Linked DNA regions of Homo sapiens: region 1 is linked to region 2. Evidence: promoter capture Hi-C in human tissues and cell types (Jung and others, 2019). All regions are on one chromosome and are shown on one strand. The core of a region is centred on a gene start or on the middle of the fragment in contact, and the rest is flanking DNA. Distances in the headings are between cores, read along the strand shown.

The links. The method cuts DNA at HindIII sites, captures the fragments that hold promoters and counts their contacts. A contact is called where the count stands out against the background at its distance.
Region 1: a fragment that was not itself captured here is called in contact with the fragment with the promoter of UCHL1 in region 2 in 1 of the 25 tissues and cell types used here (pancreas).

What each region holds. Positions count from the first base shown.
Region 1 is chr4:41,109,414-41,112,113 of GRCh38, forward strand. All of the region lies in intron 2 of APBB2 (amyloid beta precursor protein binding family B member 2), which reads right to left. Among named protein-coding and RNA genes, the nearest start is that of APBB2, 100 kb to the right of the region's middle. The HindIII fragment of the contact is 3,391 bases long and covers 1-2,700 here.
Region 2 is chr4:41,255,597-41,258,296 of GRCh38, forward strand. It overlaps UCHL1 (ubiquitin C-terminal hydrolase L1), which reads left to right and starts at 1,332. Exons shown (of 9, transcript NM_004181.5): 1 at 1,332-1,413; 2 at 1,519-1,530; 3 at 2,013-2,141. The coding sequence starts at 1,381. It overlaps UCHL1-DT (UCHL1 divergent transcript), which reads right to left and starts at 1,131. Exons shown (of 3, transcript NR_102709.1): 1 at 963-1,131. RefSeq lists a silencer at 1,448-2,207 and an enhancer at 2,042-2,542. The HindIII fragment of the contact is 4,741 bases long and covers 1-2,700 here.

The sequences.
Region 1 (2,700 bases), core at 116-2,615, 150 kb before region 2:
CCAAGTAGCTGGTACTACAGGGGCGTGCCACCACGCCCAGCTAATTTTTGGTTGTTTTGTTTTTTGTTTGTTTTTGAGATGGAGTCTCGCTCTGTCACCCAGGCTGGAGTGCAGTGGCGTGATCTTGGCTCACTGCAACCTCCGCCTCCTAGGTTCACGCCATTCTCCTGCCTCAGCCTCCCGAGTAGCCGGGATTACAGGCACCCACCACTACACTGGGCTAATTTTTTATATTTTTGGTAGAGATGGAGTTTCACCATGTTAGCCAGGATGGTCTTGATCTCCTGACCTCATGATCTGCCCGCCTCGGCCTCCCAAAATGCTGGGATTACAGCCGTGAGCCACTGCGCCTGGCCAAGAAAGCAATATGATTTTATAAAGGTGTTTATATCATTTTATCCCTATTTTACAGAAGAATCGGATGTTCCAACATGTGGAATAATTTGTCAAAGGTCACGGAGCTAAAAAATTAATGTTCAGACCCTTGTCTTCTGGTTCTACCCTAATATCAAGGTGCTTTGTATTATTTAGTTTTAAACACTGTCTCCTGTCCTTTAACCAAGCATAAGGTCCTTGAAGGATGAGACAAATTTTATCATCTTTGTGTTCTCTCCAGAACCTGGTAATACTCATAACTTATGATAACTGATTTATCCATCAAGACTCCACCCAGAGACCACCTTTCTTTCTAATTTACAGCCCCCATCCCTGCAGAAGCAACCACTCCCTCCTCCTTGGCCTCTGTATGTTTCCACTGCAGCACATGCAAGCCGGAATGCAAGGCCCGTGGCTGCCACACATGTGCCTGGCACGCAGGAGGCACTTAGTGTTTACTGAGTGAAATGATTACACATGGCACAGTCGTGTTTCTCAACAAGGTTGTCGTACCCTGTTAAAAAATTTGACCTCAGCCGGACACGGTGGCTCACGCTTATAATCCCAGCACTTTGGGAGACTGAGGAGGGTAGATCATGAGGTCAGGAGTTCGAGACCAGCCTGGCCAACACAGTGAAACCCCATCTCTACTAAAAATATAAAAGTCAGCTGTGTGTGGTGACGGGCACCTGTAATCCCAGCTACTCAGGAGGCTGAGGCAGGAGAATCACTTGAGCCCGGGAGGCAGAGGTTGCAGTGAGCCGAGATCGCACCACTGCACTCCAGCCTGGGCATCAGAGTTAAGACTCTGTCTCAAAAAAAAAAAAAAAAAGACCTCATTTTTATCCTTATCATGTACTGACAAAAATTATTTTAGGCAAGACTGACAGAAAATGGAGAAGAGAATATAGGTCTGAGCCCCTTTGCATCCCCTCTACTTTGTGTTCTCTCTACATGCTGCCCTGGGTATAGTATGTTCTAGAGCAGCGGTCCCCAACCTTTTTGGCACCAGGAACTGGTTTCGTGAAAGACAATTTTTCCCCAATAGGGTGAGGGGAGGTTGGAGGGGTTTAGGATAATTCAAATGCATGATGTTTATAGTGCACTTTATTTCTATTATTACATTGTAATATATAATGAAGTAACTATACAACTCACTGTAATGTAGAACCAGTGGGAACCCTGAGCTTGTTCTCCTGCAACTAGACATCCCATCTGGGGGTGATGGGAGACAGTACCAGATCATCAGGCATTAGATTCTCATAACGAGTGGGCAACCTAGATCCCTCGCATGCACAAGTCACAAAAGGGCTTGTGCTCCTATGAGAATCTAATGCTGCTGCTGATCTGACAGGAGGCGGAGCTCAGGCAGTAATGCAAGAGATAAGGAGCAGCTGGAAATATAGATTAAGCTTTCCTCACTCACCTGCCACTCACCTCCTGCTGTGCAGCCCTGTTCCTAACAGACCACAGAATGGTACCACTCCAAAACTTAGGGGTTGGGGACCCCATTTGCAGAAGAGTGCTTCCAAATTTTAATGTATATGTAATAGCAATCAATAAAAATTATGATTCAGTATGTCTGTGGTGGAGCCCAAGATTCTGCATTTCTAACAAGTTCCCAAGAGATAGCAATGCTGCTGATCCACAGAACATTCTTTGGAGTAGCAAAAAGTTCTAGACAGTTATAGTGAAACTATTCCCATTTAAAGAGTATATAACATGTAGATTGAAATGACTAGACATAATTTCACAGAATGTTAATGCTAGTTGTCTCTGGGTTTCTTCTTTCTGCTTTTCTGTAATTTCCATGTATTGTATAATGACTCTTGCTGATGGAAATAAAAATTTTAAATGCTCTCTCTATATATACATGCACAAAAAAAACTGCATATTTGGACATTTCCATTCTGCATAGCTCCATCTTTATTTAAGCAACAAATATACTTAAAAGGACTAGCCTTGGGATAGAACAGGTTGGTGAATTTAGCAATTCCCTATATTCTCATTTTAACATGCAAATTAACATGAAACAGCAATTACCCTTAACAAGCAGTCGCCATTACAAGTATTGTTTTTCTCAGGTCCTTTCCCTTAAAAGAAAGAGAAAGAATCCGTTCAGTTGGAATACAATAAAAGGCAAACCAAATTAAGGGCAGATAGAAAAAAACCAGCAGGCACTACACTGGAGCTCTTCCAAGTGGGTCAACAGAACCACAGGAAAGTTGAAACAGATGGAAATGCTTTTCTCACAGCAGAGGTGGGATGGGCTGAGTTCCACAGCAAGGTGAAATGAAATAAATTAAAGCATCATTCACTGTGCAC
Region 2 (2,700 bases), core at 82-2,581:
GAATCTTAGATAAAGAATGGGCTCTTGGAGCCCAGTTTAGCAGGGTTTACTTCTCAGTTTTACTTTTCAATTGTGACCGTAAGCAAATTAACTTCTCTAGGCCTGGGATTCTGATCTGTAAAATTGCACTAATATGAGTCTCTTCACGGCTCCTCTAAGGATTAAATGAGAGACACATGCAAAGGATCCCCAAAAACAATAACTCAAAAAATGTTGATTCCCTCCCTTCCCTCTGTCATCTGTTAACCTCAACTTCCTAAATAGAAGGTCTATTCTTTTACCATCATCATTATTCTCTTCGGTGCCTATTTTTAAAAAATACTCAACCTTCTTGCTTCCTTCGCTACCTAAGTATTTCTGCAAGCCCACTTTGTTCTGCAGCTTAGCTTTCCTGGCACAATTCTTATAGATTTTGGTCCCTTTTAAAATTCATTCTTCAGCAAATGCTTTCTCTCTCCATCTTTTGACTAGAGATCATTAGAGATCACCTGAGATCATTAGAGAACAGTGGTTTCCTTGGTTGCCATTCCCTTTCTTCTTCATTGGGAGTATTCTGCGGTGAACTCAGACATTTTATTTTTCAAAGCTTCCCATTCTTTTAAAAATGCTTTTCCTTTTACAGCCTCTCGCTCAAAATCATACCCATCTTTTCCCTGGATCTGTTTTCTCAAGTCTCCAATCGCCTGCCTTCTTTGTGTCTTGTATTACCCTCACATCCCCCAGCTTTCTACTGCTCTCCCAGGACCAACCATTTCTTCCGCGGGAGTCACATTACATCAGCATTCCTAATGCAGTATCTGTTATCTACCAGATTCTGTTTTATTCTAGGTAGTCACTTAAAAACGAACCTCGGTACTGGTCTGACTTAACATGGAGGAGGAATTGTCTAAGGTTAAACGCAAACTGCTGAGAGATTTGGGGCGGGGGGCACACATTTACATTCATTCGTATTAAATATATACCTGTTGAATTTGTGCTTTTTCTCAAATGCTTCAGAGACTCGAGCTTTAGAGTAATTGGGATGGTGAAAGGATGGGTTTCCAGAAACTTCGCCCAAAATTAAAGACTCCATCAAAAGGACTGCTCCATACACTCAAGGAACACCCACCAACAAATCCCGTCTCCACAACCACCAGATTATCTCACCGGCGAGTGAGACTGCAAGGTTTGGGGGCCCGGCCGTACCACTCCGCGCTGCGCACGGGGGGTTCGTACCCATCTGGCCGCGACCGTCCGTTTCCCCCTCGCTTGGTTCTGCCCCTGCTCCCCCTGCACAGGCCTCACAGTGCGTCTGGCCGGCGCTTTATAGCTGCAGCCTGGGCGGCTCCGCTAGCTGTTTTTCGTCTTCCCTAGGCTATTTCTGCCGGGCGCTCCGCGAAGATGCAGCTCAAGCCGATGGAGATCAACCCCGAGGTGAGCGCCAGGTGCACCGCTACCCGGAGAGCGCGAGGCCGAGGGAGGGGGAGCCGAGTCGCTGATCGGTTCGGTTTTGCCTTTTTCTTTGCATTTGCCTTTCAGATGCTGAACAAAGTGAGTGGCGTCTCGCGCCGTCTCTGGCCCCCTCCCCCGCGAGCGCCGAGGCGGGGGCGCCCACCGGTTCCGGCTGCTGGCAGGGACCAAGCCGCCCGCTGCGAGCACCGGAGACGGCCGGGCTGGGGCGTGGGCTGGGCGCCTTTCCTGGGCCCCTGCATTTAGCGGGTGACTCTACGAAACCGGTCACGGGGAGACGGAGGGGGCTGCGCCCCGTGGCGAGCGAGCGCCAGGCGGAGCTCCCGAGGGCGTGGCGCGGGCAGCACAGACTCGGCTGCACGGGCTTCGCGGGCGCCACGTGTGGGCCGCGCTTTGTGCTGTGTCATTGCGCCGGCCCGGGTGGGGGTGGCAGGGCGGGACTGGGGCTCCTCCCAGGCTCGGGTGCGGGCGCGGAGGGCGCGCGCCTCCTGGCCCCGCCCCCTGGCAGGTGCCCGCGACCCGCGTGTCCCCGTGCGCCTGGCCGCCTTGTCTCCTCTCCGCAGGTGCTGTCCCGGCTGGGGGTCGCCGGCCAGTGGCGCTTCGTGGACGTGCTGGGGCTGGAAGAGGAGTCTCTGGGCTCGGTGCCAGCGCCTGCCTGCGCGCTGCTGCTGCTGTTTCCCCTCACGGCCCAGGTAGGGCGTGGGGCCCAGGATGCGCCGGCCGCCGGCAGTGCACGCCGCTCCCCAGCTTGAGTCCTCGGGGGCTCCCCGCCCCGCCCCCTCCCCTGTAGGTGATGCGGGGCGCGCCTACAAGGAAGGGAGGAGCCTGCATTTTCGTGGTACCTACTCCCTGGGCTCCTGTTCCAGCGGTGCCTGTCGCCTTCTTGCCCATCCGTCCACAATTGCCTTAAATTTGGAAGAGAGGCAGTATCTCAGTTCCATCTATCCCGTTATCCAGGGAAATCATTCATCCTACTCATGAGTTCCCTCGAACTTGGGCTTTTTCGAGCCTCCGGTTCCGGGGAATGGCTGCTGGTTTCCCTTTAAGGGCTATAACCTGTCAACTCATTGTTTGCTTCTCAGACTCCCACCTAGCTGTAGAATGGAGGGGGAAGGGCTGACCTAAATCGCAGGGAAACAATTAGGTTCGCTAATTCTCCGCCTCCATTACTTGGGTTTCTGATGGTCTTAAGGGGTTCTTCTCTCTTCTCCACTCCCACCACTTGCACACTTGGTTTTTAGCCTCTTGAAT